Regions from separate parts of the Homo sapiens genome. Here regions 2 and 3 are each linked to region 1. The links are contacts of gene promoters, found by promoter capture Hi-C in human tissues and cell types (Jung and others, 2019). All regions are on one chromosome and are shown on one strand. The core of a region is centred on a gene start or on the middle of the fragment in contact, and the rest is flanking DNA. Distances in the headings are between cores, read along the strand shown. Region 1 holds the start of MC4R (melanocortin 4 receptor). Region 2 has its middle 73 kb from the start of MC4R. Region 3 has its middle 88 kb from the start of MC4R.

Region 1 (5,088 bases), core at 703-3,202:
GATTCAATCTCTACAAAATTATTTTTTAAAAGCTAGCTGGGTGTGGAGGTACATTTAGTTCCAGCTACTCAGGAGGCTGAAGTAGGAGGATCACTTGAACCTAGTGAGCCATGATCATGCCACTGCACTCCAGCCTGGGTGACAGAGCAAGATCCTGTTTTAATTTTTTAAAAATCAAATTCTGATTCACATTATAGTGTAAGCAAACCTTGAAAATATTATGCTACATGAAAACAGTGAGCCACAAAAGGCCACATATTGCATTATTTCAATCATATAAAATGTCTAAAATAGGCACATTGATAGAGACAGAAAGTAGATTAGCAGTTCCTAGAGGATAAGGAAAGGGTAAAATGGGGAGCAACTGCTAATGGGATAATGAAAATGTTTTAGAAATAGAAAGTGATGATTATGGCACAACTCTGTGAATATATTCCCCCAAAAATCCATTTAATTACTAAAGAGGTGATTTTTTTTGGTATGTGAATTATATGTCAATTTTTAAAAAGAGAAAAAATAAGGCAAGAGGAAGGTAAGATTATTTCCAGCTCATGATGTTCAGGAAAGCCCATTCCAGCATTTTACAATATACAGATGATTAGGCATTCAGAAATACAGGGGAAGGGAGTTGGAGGTGTGAGTTCTGCTCTGTGCAATCATTCAAGAGACAGGCTCCTTTCATGATATGGTCCTGCCACCTGTAACATGAGATTTCAAAGACAGGAGAGAAAACTTGTGTAAAATTATGAAAGAGCTAATGCGATGAGCCCCACTGTCAACATGCCATTAGCTAGAATTTAGTCATAAGGTCCTACCCAATTCCAAAGGTGGATGGAAGACGTTAATTTATCTCAATGCTCAGGAACAATACTTAGTATTGTCTCTGTCACAAAAGGAAAGAGGATACATTCCCAACCTAAGTAACTGAGATTCAGAATTAACCCTGAAATAAGCAGCTACAAACTATAGAGCACTAAAACCAAAAATAATCATAGAAGAAAAGAATATACAAAATTTTGTATAATCTGTTGTTCAGTTAATTTGGAAAGTAACTTTGCTGCCATCTTTCAAACCACCTTAAGCAAAATATTCAGAAACTTCAATAACTAACTAGTATCACCAGTCTTGGCTTGATAAGTAAAGTTACTAGGTATTTGTCGGTTCAACTTACGATACGTTAAACTCTGGAGGTTTAAAAAAAAGTTGCTTAAAAAAAAAAAACAGAATGCAGCTTATTATTTTCCTGAGTTCAGTGTAAGCATAGTTACATTAATGCCGTATGAGTTTAAAATATTGTAAATAAAAAGCACCTTTTTTCAGCTATAACACAAACTCCTCAATAGAGAAATATGGGATATTAGTGCATTAAAATCAACCCCTTTTGAACCCATTCATAATTTATAGCTACCTACATAGTTCTTCCAGCCATACCATGTCTATCTGTATCATTAAATATCCTCTCTGTTTTTCAGGTATTTTAACTGAACCACTACTGGCTGGGTTCTTAATAAAAACAAAAAATTAAGAAGGTAAATAAATTCAGTATCCTAGCCAAAAAGCAGAGTATCTGTTTCAGGAACATAAGACAGTATACTTTCCATTTCATTTTACACACACACATGATGTCTTTTACATAAGAATGAACCTGGCTGCCTGAAGATAGCTTGTTTTGATATCACAGAATGGCCTCTAGGGATCAAGTTGTTTCCCTTGAAAACTTAAAAAGGGAAATTCAGTCTCTTATCCGGCTTGCTTCTCGACTTCAGACTTCAGGAGCTTCTGCATCTGAATCTGTGTCACCCTGCAATTTGTGTCTCTGAAACATAATCCTGTCTCACAGACTCCCATTGCATTGGGATTGGTCAGAAGGAAGCAGAGGAGGAGCCACCGTGAACATGTTTTTTTTCTCTCCACACATCATAAAAATCAGCAGCTGGCGCCTACAGCCCCTAACACTCAAAGCAACGCTCAGGCTGGAAACAGAAGCTTCCGAGAGGCAGCCGATGTGAGCATGTGCGCACAGATTCGTCTCCCAATGGCATGGCAGCTTCAAGGAAAATTATTTTGAACAGACTTGAATGCATAAGATTAAAGTTAAAGCAGAAGTGAGAACAAGAAAGCAAAGAGCAGACTCTTTCAACTGAGAATGAATATTTTGAAGCCCAAGATTTTAAAGTGATGATGATTAGAGTCGTACCTAAAAGAGACTAAAAACTCCATGTCAAGCTCTGGACTTGTGACATTTACTCACAGCAGGCATGGCAATTTTAGCCTCACAACTTTCAGACAGATAAAGACTTGGAGGAAATAACTGAGACGACTCCCTGACCCAGGAGGTTAAATCAATTCAGGGGGACACTGGAATTCTCCTGCCAGCATGGTGAACTCCACCCACCGTGGGATGCACACTTCTCTGCACCTCTGGAACCGCAGCAGTTACAGACTGCACAGCAATGCCAGTGAGTCCCTTGGAAAAGGCTACTCTGATGGAGGGTGCTACGAGCAACTTTTTGTCTCTCCTGAGGTGTTTGTGACTCTGGGTGTCATCAGCTTGTTGGAGAATATCTTAGTGATTGTGGCAATAGCCAAGAACAAGAATCTGCATTCACCCATGTACTTTTTCATCTGCAGCTTGGCTGTGGCTGATATGCTGGTGAGCGTTTCAAATGGATCAGAAACCATTGTCATCACCCTATTAAACAGTACAGATACGGATGCACAGAGTTTCACAGTGAATATTGATAATGTCATTGACTCGGTGATCTGTAGCTCCTTGCTTGCATCCATTTGCAGCCTGCTTTCAATTGCAGTGGACAGGTACTTTACTATCTTCTATGCTCTCCAGTACCATAACATTATGACAGTTAAGCGGGTTGGGATCATCATAAGTTGTATCTGGGCAGCTTGCACGGTTTCAGGCATTTTGTTCATCATTTACTCAGATAGTAGTGCTGTCATCATCTGCCTCATCACCATGTTCTTCACCATGCTGGCTCTCATGGCTTCTCTCTATGTCCACATGTTCCTGATGGCCAGGCTTCACATTAAGAGGATTGCTGTCCTCCCCGGCACTGGTGCCATCCGCCAAGGTGCCAATATGAAGGGAGCGATTACCTTGACCATCCTGATTGGCGTCTTTGTTGTCTGCTGGGCCCCATTCTTCCTCCACTTAATATTCTACATCTCTTGTCCTCAGAATCCATATTGTGTGTGCTTCATGTCTCACTTTAACTTGTATCTCATACTGATCATGTGTAATTCAATCATCGATCCTCTGATTTATGCACTCCGGAGTCAAGAACTGAGGAAAACCTTCAAAGAGATCATCTGTTGCTATCCCCTGGGAGGCCTTTGTGACTTGTCTAGCAGATATTAAATGGGGACAGAGCACGCAATATAGGAACATGCATAAGAGACTTTTTCACTCTTACCCTACCTGAATATTGTACTTCTGCAACAGCTTTCTCTTCCGTGTAGGGTACTGGTTGAGAATATCCATTGTGTAAATTTAAGCCTATGATTTTTAATGAGAAAAAATGCCCAGTCTCTGTATTATTTCCAATGTCATGCTACTTTTTTGGCCATAAAATATGAATCTATGTTATAGGTTGTAGGCACTGTGGATTTACAAAAAGAAAAGTCCTTATTAAAAGCTTAACAATGTCTCCTTCGTGTTATTCATAAGCATTGGACACTTTGCGTGCTTTCGTAACATAGAAATCAGAGCCTCATTAAACATATTCTAATAAATGCTTTATTATATTATATTATCCACCATTGAAATGTAGAGAGTTCATTCTAGCAGTTAAGGGAAAATATTTAAAGAATAGATGTATAATCATTTTTAAAAATATCATCACTGAAATTTCAAGTAATTTAATTAAAGGTTTGTTCATCCTCCCTGTGCAGAAGTAGAAATGAAGCTCCTCTAGAGAGAAAAACAGGTGCTGAAAAAAGAGAGATGCTGAGTTAGAAAACTATGTGTACTTCTCAGACACAGAAAGATTCATCTCCCTTAGCAAACAGCCTGATATTTCACACAGGCAATTCGGTTTGGGGTGGGTGGGAAAAGGCAGCTATAGGGATGAAAGTGTCCTGGAAAACCTAAGTTGCCATGTCAAGCTAAATTTCCTGTTACCAAATTATCCCTAAACAATATTAATAAAACAGAGAATGGGGATTTATGCCCCCTTTAAACAAGGATTCAGGGTCTGCTGAAGTGTCCAGAAAAGGTAATATTGTACTGAGAGATTTAGCTTCCTGTTTCTAGAGAAGTACAGGACTGACATCGAATTCTTTCTCATTTCACATGAAAATGACTTGCTGTTTACTTATTGCTGATTTTTTGAACTGGAGTACAAATGTTGATTATCAAGGATTTTAAACTTCAAAACCAAATTCATAGCAGAAGTGTTTTCTGGCAATATTTGTAAATAACTAAAATAAAGGTATCTGTGATGCTGGTACATTTTAAGCAGGAAGGGAGGCACCTACCAAACCCCAGAGGATGTCATGCAATAAACTAGCCTTCCACAGCCACTTCTTGAAGAGTAAAATGTTTTGCTCCAAAATAATCCTACAGATTTGGCCACTGAGCAATAAAATTTGTACTGTACTTTCTAATCTGTGTGTAATTTAAAATAAAGCAAAAGAATATATTAGGTTGAGGATTACCAGTAAACTATCTTAGGATTTACAGGGTCTTCAAATGCTCATGGGCAGAAGTCATATGCAAAGGTACTCCTTAACTCAAATCTAAATGTTTTACACTGATTATAAGACCCAAGAAACACTTTCAACATTCATCTGAAAACACTACCTTAAAGGATAATAGTGAAGTTAAAGTTTACACATAAGAAGTGGTACTAAAGCTGAAATTTTAATTCCACTGCAATTCCTCTATTTTGAAGCAAAAGTGAATGTGAGGATTTAAATATACACTAATCTAACAATCATAGTCTATAGCAGTAGAGGGACACAGTTATGTTTTTTTCATTGCTACGTTTCCTGTCCATTCTTTCATTTCATGAATCTGAAAAATCCCAGGGACTAGAGATATGAAAAAGAGAGCTATGAGCACACCCCATC
Region 2 (4,690 bases), core at 1,553-4,052, 72 kb before region 1:
TAGAGTAGGACCTCATCCAACATGACTGGTGTCCTAATAAGAAAAATATAACAGGGGAGGGGATGGCTAATTAGAAGCAGCTGTAGTCTGCCGCTTTCACAAAACAGTGAGTGTACACTGTACCTTTGACTGAGGTATCCAGATTCTCACACTGGGACTAAGTAGGCAGACGGCTTGACCCACAGAGACTGAGGAAAAACAGGGTGGGGTGATGGCTTACCTGGGAGCATCAGGAAGCCATGGAGTCCCCACACACAGCCAAGGGTGGTGGTGAGTCTTTGTGCCACCCTGCCCAGGAAGCCACGCCTTCCCTATGGATCTTTGCAACCTGTGTATCAGGATATCCTCTCCTGAGCCCAGGTCACCAGGGCCTTGGTCCAAAGCATAGAGCTTTGTGGAGTCTTGGTGGAGCAGCCGCTTGTTCACTCGGGCATGGAGGAAAATCCAGGAGTTTTGCATTCTCCAGTCCTGGGAATTCCGGCAAGGAAGAGGTCCCAGGCATTCCCCTAAAAAGGGGGCTCAATACAGGGAGGCATCTTCCTGTTGGACTCCACTCCCATGGGGCCTCACAAGACCCACTGGCTTAGAATTCTACCCAGCAAGCAGTGGCAGGCTGGTGACAGCGCCTGAGAGGGACTGAGTTCCAGGAAGGAGGGGCAGTTACCATATCGGCAGCTGGAGTCAGCCACTCTAGCCTGTAGGCACCTGGGACCAAAAGGAATTCCCCACAACCTACCACAGCTGCTATGCCTGATTGTGGCCAGCCTGTTTCTTTAAGTGGGAACTTGATCCATCCCTCCTCACTGGGTGGGGCCTCCCTATGGGAATTTCAGCAACTCCAGCCAGGGTTATATGAACAGAGCTATGATCTCTCCCTGGAATAGAGTCCCTGCGGGGAGCGGCAGCTGCTGTTTCTGTGGTTCAGCTGACTTAGTCTTGCTAGGCGGCTGTTTCTGGAGAGGCTGGACAGCCAGTGCAGGGCACCTCCTCTGCCAAGGGGCAGCCAGACTGCTTCTTTAAGCGAGTCCTTGATTCTATTCTTCCTGACTCTATAAGACCTCCTAAAAGGGGTCTCCAGACACCTCTTACAGGAGCATTCCAGCTGGCACCAGGTTGATGCCCCCTTGGGATAGAGCTCCCAGAGGAAGGAGCAGGCTTCCATCTTCGTTGTTTCACAGCCTTCACTGGTGATTCACACCTTCCTAGACCAAGGTGACTAGGGTCTGAAGTGACCAACAGCAAACTACAGAAGCCCTACGGAAGAGTGACCTGTTAAAAAAACATAATAATAAATAATTATAAAAAAACAGAAAGCAGCAACAACATCAACTGAAAAGACCCCACAAAAACCCCATTCAAAGGTCAGCAACCCCAAAGATCAAAGATAGCTAAGCCTACAAAGATGAGAAAGAATCAATGCAAAAATAGTGAAAACTCAAAAAGCCGGAGTGCCTCTTCTCCTCCAAATGACCACAACATCTTTCCAGCAAGGGCACAAAACTGGGCTGAGGCTGAGATGGATAAATCGACAGAAGTAGTCTTCCGAAGGTGGGTAATAATGAAATTCACTGAACTAAAGGAGCATGTTCTAATCCAATGCAAAGAAGCTAAGAATCATGATAAAACATTACAGGAGCTGATAACCAGAATAGCCAGTTAAGAGAGAAACATAACTGACCTGATAGAGCTGAAAAATACAACACGAGAACTTCACAATGCAATTACAAGTATCAATATAGCCAAATAGAACAAGCAGAGGAAAGAATCTCAGAGCCTGAAGACTATCTTTCTGAAGTAAGACAGGCAGACAAGAATAGAGAAAAAAGAATGAAGAGGAATGAACAAAATCTCTGAGAAATATGGGATTATGTAAAAAGACTGAACATATAACTGATTGGAGTACCTGAAAAACACAGGGGGAATGAAACCAAGTTGGAAAACATACTTCAGGATATCATCCAGGAGAACTACCCCAACTTAGCAACACAGGCCAACATTCAAATTCAGGAAATAAAAAGAACCCCAGTAAGATACTCCATGAGAAGACCAACCCCAAGACATATAATCATCAGATTCTCCAAGGTTGAAATGAAAGAAAAAATGTAAGGGCAGCCAGAGAAAAAGGCCAGGTCTCCTACAAAGGTAAGTCCATCAGACTAACAGCAGACCTCTCAGTGGAAACTCTATAAGCCAGAAGAGATTAGGTATTCAACATTCTTCAGAAAAAGAAATCCCAACCCAGAATTTCATATCTGGCCAAACTAAGCTTCATAAGCAAAGGAAAAATGAGATCCTTTTCAGATAAACAAATGCCAAGGGAATATGTCACCACCAGGCCTGCCTTGTAAGAACTCCTGAAAGAACCACAAAATATGGAAAGTAAAAACACTTACCAGCCACTGCAAAAGCACACTAAAGTACACAGACCAATGACACTATGAAGTAATCACATAAACAAGTCTGAAAATTAACCAGCTAGCACAATGATGGCAGGATCAAATTCTTACATAATAATAACCTTAAATGTAAATGGGCTAAATGCCCTGATTAAAAGACACAGAATGGCAAACTGGATAAAGAGTCAAGCCCCATTAGAATGCTGTCTTCAGAAGACCCATCTCACATCAAAAGACACACATAGGCTCAAAATAAAGGAATGGAGGAAAATTTACCAAGCAAATGGAAAACAGAAAAAAGTAGGGGTCATAATCCTAGTTTCCCATAAAACAGACTTTAAACCGACAAAGATCAAAAAAGACAAAGAAGGGCATTACATAATGGTAAAGGGTTCAAATCAACAAGAAGAGCTAACTATCCTAGATAAATATGCACCCAATACAAGGAGCACCTAGATTCATAAAGCAAGTTCTTAGACACCTACAAAGAGACTTAGACTCCTACATGTAACAGTGGAATTCTTTAACGGCCCACTGACAATATTAGACAGATCATTGAGAGAGAAAATTAACAAAGATATTCAGTACCTGAACTCAGCTCTGGATCAAACAGACCTGAAAGATATCTACAGAACTCTCCACCCAGGATATACATTCTTCTCATTGCCACATGGCACTTACTCCAAAACTGATCACATAATTAGAAGTAAAACACTCCTCAGCAAATGCAAAAGAACTGAAATCATAACAATCTCTCAGACTACAATGCAATAAATTAGAACTCAAGATTAACAAACTCACTCAAAACCACACAACTACATGGAAAATGGACAACTTGCTCCTGAATGACTCCTTGTTAAATAATGAAATTAAGGCAGAAATCAAGAAGTTCTTTGAAACTGATGAGAACAAAGAGACAATATACCTGACTCCCTGGGATGCAGCTAAATCAGTGTTAAGACGGAAATTTATAGCGCTAAATGCCCACATTAAAAAGCTAGAAATATCTCAATTCGACATCCTAACATCACAACAAAAATAACTAGAGAACCAAGAGCAAACAAGCCCCAAAGCTAGCAGAAGACAAGAAAAAAAAAAAACAAGATCACAGAGGAGCTGAAGGAGGTAGAGACCAAAACATCAAAATTTTTTAAATTTTGTCTTCAAAAAATCAACAAATCTAGCAGCTGTCTTTTTTGAAAAATGAAATAAAATAGATTGCTAGCTAGACTAATAAATCAGAAAAAAAGAGAAGAACCAAATAGACACAATCAGAAATGATAAGGGGGATATCACCAATGACCCCACAGAAATACAAATGACCATTAGAGAATACTATAAATGCTTCTATGTACATAAACGAGAAAATCTAGAAGAAACTGATAAATTCCTGGACACATACACCCTCCCAAGACTGAACCAGGAATAAATTAAATCCCTGAATAGAACAATAACAAGTTCTGAAATTGAGGCAGTAATAAATAGCCTACCAACCAAAAAAAGCCCAGGACCCGACAGATTTACAGCTGAATTCTACCAGAGATACAAAGAGCTGGAACCATTTTTACTCAAACTATTCCAAACAATTAAAAAGGAGGGACTCTTCCCTAACTCATTTTATGAAGCCAGCATCATTTTGATACCAAAACTTAGCAGAGATACAACAACAAAAATGAAAACTTCAGGCCAATATTCCAGATGAACATTGATGCAAAAATTCTCAATAAAATACTGGCAAACTGAATTCAGCAGCACATCAAAAAGCTTATCCACCAGGATCAAGTAGTCTTCAGCCCTGGGATGCAAAACCGGTTCAACATATACACATCAACAAATGTAATTCACCACATACATAGAACTAAAGACAAAAGCCACATGATTATCTCAATAGATGCAGAAAAGGCCTTCAATAAAATTCAACATCCCTTCCTGATAAAAACTACAATAAACTAGGTATTGAAGAAACAATTAACTATAAACTAGGTATTGAAGAAACAATTTAAAAAAAAAAAAACGGCCGGGCGTGGTGGCTCAATCCTGTAATCCCAGCACTTTGGGAGGCCAAGGAGGGTGGATTGCCTGAGGTTAGGAGTTTGAGACCAGCCTGGCCAACATGGCGAAACACCATCTCTACTAAAAATACAAACAAAATTAGCAGGGCGTGGTGGCGTGCATCTGTAATCCCAGCTACTCTGGAGGCTGAGGCAGAAAAATCGCTTGAACCCAGGAAGTGGAGGTTGCATTGCACTCCAGACTGGGCAACAAGAGCGAGACTCCGTCTCAAAAAACAAAAC
Region 3 (4,655 bases), core at 2,140-4,639, 89 kb after region 1:
AAATACACCTTTCTAGCTGGTGACCTTTGCCTCTTTTCTCATTCCCTGAGAAACCAGTACCTTCTTTCTCTCAAAGGATTTTGTAATCATTCCAGGCATATTAATGTAATATGATTTAATATTACCCTACGCTTTTCCTCCTGTTTATCTTGTTCCAGGGAAACACACATGCATTCTTTGCCATGACAAATCTTAACAGTCTTAAGATGTAAGTCATAGCCACCACTTCTGACTTCCATATAAGTGCTACTAGGCAGCCAGACCTTCAGATTTCTTATACACTTATGAGACATAAGGAAAATCCTAACATACATATAATTGGAGTCTTAGGGAAGACGAAAGAGAAAATAGAGAAGGAGCAATATTAAAAGATATAGAAGAATTTTCCTAAGTTGGCAAAGCTATCATCCCAGCGTTAAAAAGTACTATTTAAATATAAAAGAGTAATACTAATTAACAAGAATATAGGAGTTTTTAATTCTATTTCACCATTTTTATATATTTGTTACCTTTATTGTTAAAAGGAGATTAAGCAAAACTTCTCCTTTAATCTTCTGGCATAGTAAAATGTGAATCTATTAACAGACAAGCTTCTAGAAAGAGCAGCCTATACTTGCTGTCCCATTTTTCAGCTTCCTTCTCATCCTTTAAACCATTTGAGAAGCATGGCCATCATCAGTAAAACCTCTGCATTGACAGTATATTTCAGCCCTTATCTTCCTCAACTTTTCTACAATACTTGTCACCCTTTATCACATTCTTTTTATTGATTTTTTTCCTTACTCAGATCCTATACCACTACTATTTCCTGGTTCTTCTTCAGTTTTTTTAGTCTCTGTTACAGGCAGGTCTTCTACACCCTCCTTAAATAAGAATGGACCATCTTATTCACACCTGTAGTGTCTACAAATAGCACTAGTGAGAAATGAAACGAAGGAATGGAACCCAGGAAATCAATTCAATCATTTAAGGCCAAAACTGATGTCTTGATCTCTCCACATAAACTTACTTCTCATCTTTTATATTGTACCGTAGTGAGCATATCAAATTTCCATAAAATAATTCAAAAACTTGAAATCACAGATTCCTCTTTTGTGAATAGCCTCCAGCTTTGAACTCTTTACAATGTTTCTGGGATTCTGAGATATATAGATTTGCTCAAATATTTAATAGAAAATTACAGGCTATGCATCAAAATAGCAAAAAATGATCAAAATTGCAATAATCTGCAAGCATTAGACTATGAGAAGTAGACATTATTTTGGATACATACTTATAGGGATATTTGCAGAACTCTTTATTGGCATATTACTACATAAAAATATAGAATTTTACATATTGTATAATCATTGTATATAAACACTAAACTGTTCTAATATTTTTGCATATATATATTTACATACATATGTTCATTTTATGTATCACTAGAGAGTTCAAAGAATTTAACTACTTATACTTTTAGTAATTTTTGTTTAATTAGCCACTTTATAACCTTTCTTTTTCACTTTTACATTTTTATACTTCTGCAACTTGAATTTCTTCATCGTAGCCATTTCTTATCTAATTAAAACATTGCTAAAAAAGAAAATACACAAACACGTATATAACACAGAACTTAGTCATGATAAAATTTTTTTCTATCTAAACACTAATGTTAGATTGGAATGGATGACTGAGAAAAACTGGAAGTAAACAATGGAAGTTAATCCGTTAGCTTTATTCATAAAATATTCATAACCTAGCAATCTCCAACCAGTGCCTAAAGAAATAAGGTGAATCCATTTAAAGAACAATGTTAGAGCATATTTCAGTGTACATTGATCATCATTTGCATAATGCAAATGATTGCATTATGGGTAAAAATCCTCAGATTCTGTACCTGAGATACATGTACAGTAAAAGATACATATTCTAAAAGAATAATCAACAAACACTGTGGTCTTGGAAGTTTCCCAGACAGGATGGTGGCCGAAAAGGGCCTGTGAGGAAAATATATTCAGATGGCTATTATGATCCTTCTGACTACCATTTCAGTTTTCTCCCTGTGTAGATAAAATTTATAAATAGAGAAAAATATATTTGAAGGTTTCTAATACAGTGATTTTGAAAAACATGTACTTTTCTAATATAGGAGAATCATTAGAGATATGATGTTATCTCAGTTTTCTTTTACAGTCTTAAAAAACATGATAGTGAACTGTCTGACTTACAGTCTAAATAAATACAATGAAAAAATTGACTGGCAACAGGTTATTTTTCTGAAAAACTGACATGTTACATGAACTTTACAAAATATAGCTGTTTTTCCTTTGAGTCCTCAAGGGATAGAGACATCAACTTCTTAGGCCTGTGCCCTTGAAGTAGACTTTAAGAACTGGGCATTCTGTTATTAGTATTCAGTTTCTAAAGTCATATTCTAATAGAAGTCTACTTATTCTAAAAAATACATGGAAGTCTCAATTTATTGATTCTAGCTTCTTCTGATTAACAAGGTATTATCATTGATATGAATGTCCTTCATCAGATGATCTGATGTGTACAAGATATAAATATATCCTGAAAATGGTGATAAAAGTAATCAGTCTTACTCACCACAAAGAAATCAAAATGATAATGACTCCAGAGTTAGCTGCTATAGAAATCTTTGACTACGTGTTATCTTGAAAAGAGAACTAGCACTACACAAAGAATGACATTAATTACGCCCTCTATTATAGTATCTAAATTCAAAATGACAACTTTATTTTTGCCAATAATGACAAATGTATGAGGCTTTTATTTGGTTTGTGAAGGTAGGTTCATTTATTTATGGAAACGTTAAGGTAAAAAATCTTAGGTAAGGTAATGCAAGGAACATCATAGCTAATATTGTCTGGCTCTGGAAACCTGCATCTGCAAATACAATCAATCAAGTCAGCCTTCAAAGTGGCAAGCTTTATGCACTTTGCAGAATATTCATTCCTTTAATCATTCAAACATGATTTTTCTTAAAACTAGCAAAACAGATTGCAAGGCATAATTTTGTTTTAGGAAATACCTAATAAAATGAAATCCTTATGGAAATAAACCATGACTGTTAGAAATCATTTTTAGTCTTCAATGTATAACAAGTATATGATCTTATTACAATATAAAAACAGTGAGGTTTTTACACTTGCTGTAATAACTGGACGTGTGTTTGCATTTTTATTGGCTGATTGCATGCTGGTTGTGGGAAGAAAGATTTTTCTAAAACTTTAAAGTCAAATGGTACTGCATTTATAATTTATATGTAAGCATGCTTTGTAAAAACCCAATCATGGTAGTTTATTTAGATGCTACCCCTCCAAGGTATTTCATAGAACAAGCTGAAGCAGCACTATAATTACTTTCAAAAGCAATCAGATAGGTTCCCAAGAGCAATTTTTATTGATTAAAATTATGATTTGTTGCTCTTAAAACTCCCTCGTGCTGCCCTTTTATTTTAATTTTTATTTATTGTCTTAATGCTGTCCATCAAAAAGCTCCCAATATACCCAGTATCGATTGTTTGCTCTTCTGGGCACATGCTTCCCACTCCCTCGACAGACTTTGGATTTCACCAGAATGAAGAGTCACTTTTTGTTATTTAAACCAATGGTTTCCTGCATTGTTTTCTCTAAGAGGCTTCTGTTGATATAAGTATTGATAAAAGGATTGCATGTATTTTTGTAAATAATTTTGTAAAATAATAACATTATTTCCATTTTGAACTCACAGGCAACTCTCTTGAATCAGAAGTATTCAGCAGAGAAGTGAAAAACTAAAAACTAAAATAATGATTAGAGGGGTGAATAAAAACTCAAAACGTTAGTATGTTTAGTATGCCAGCTAGGTACCCACGGCCTTTCATTTAAGATCATGCTGAACATAAACAGTTTATTTACATACATCAATCATTCGAATTGCCTTCCCGCTTGATAGGGTAGTGACCACTTTTCCCCACCTTAACTCCAATTGATAACACAAAACAATCAAAACATATTTTCAGTGGATTATGCTGAGGATTCAAATTTAGTAAACAGACACATTTTCTCAAATTAGAAACTCAGACAGAAAGAAAGTAATCCCAGATTGAAAGTTAGGAATGCAAAAACAAATGCAGAGAAGAAAAAGAGAAGCACATGGGTAAGTCTAGAATAACGCTAACTGTTTCAAGCTATCATAATAATTATTGAGAGTATTTGAAATGTGTGTAACATTATAAAATAACAATGGCACATAGGAGAAAATAAATAGAACTCACAGGTTGTTGGGTCTTTTCATTGTCTATCAAGACAAAAGTACCAATTAACTTAGACCATGATTATTAAAGAAAACAAAATAAGAGCTTTAGAATAAAAGAATAGTTTTAAAAATTATATTTTAAAGTAACGGGGAAAAGTGAAATTTTTAAAAAATATTCAATAAACCCAAAAATGTCCAGAAAAGAGAAAATGGTACACGGTACAAGAGTAACAAATAGAAAATATTAAAATGGTAGATTGAAACCCACATATGGCATTACATTGAATATGAATGGACTTAAGTGTTGCAGTTGAAAGATAAAAATATTTTTCCACACACACATACACACATGCTGTTTACAAGAGACACATCTAAAATAAAGTGAAACAGAAGAAATGAATGTAAACAGC

The links. Contacts are between HindIII fragments. The study calls those that stand out against the background at their distance.
Region 2: a fragment that was not itself captured here is called in contact with the fragment with the promoter of MC4R in region 1 in 2 of the 25 tissues and cell types used here (hippocampus and thymus).
Region 3: a fragment that was not itself captured here is called in contact with the fragment with the promoter of MC4R in region 1 in 2 of the 25 tissues and cell types used here (bladder and thymus).

What each region holds. Positions count from the first base shown.
Region 1 is chr18:60,369,639-60,374,726 of GRCh38, reverse strand. It overlaps MC4R (melanocortin 4 receptor), which reads left to right and starts at 1,952. Exons shown (of 1, transcript NM_005912.3): 1 at 1,952-3,665. The coding sequence starts at 2,378. The coding sequence ends at 3,376. The HindIII fragment of the contact is 8,670 bases long and covers 1-2,820 here.
Region 2 is chr18:60,443,164-60,447,853 of GRCh38, reverse strand. No RefSeq gene overlaps it. Among named protein-coding and RNA genes, the nearest start is that of MC4R, 73 kb to the right of the region's middle. The HindIII fragment of the contact is 3,517 bases long and covers 1,044-4,560 here.
Region 3 is chr18:60,282,361-60,287,015 of GRCh38, reverse strand. No RefSeq gene overlaps it. Among named protein-coding and RNA genes, the nearest start is that of MC4R, 88 kb to the left of the region's middle. The HindIII fragment of the contact is 3,254 bases long and covers 1,763-4,655 here.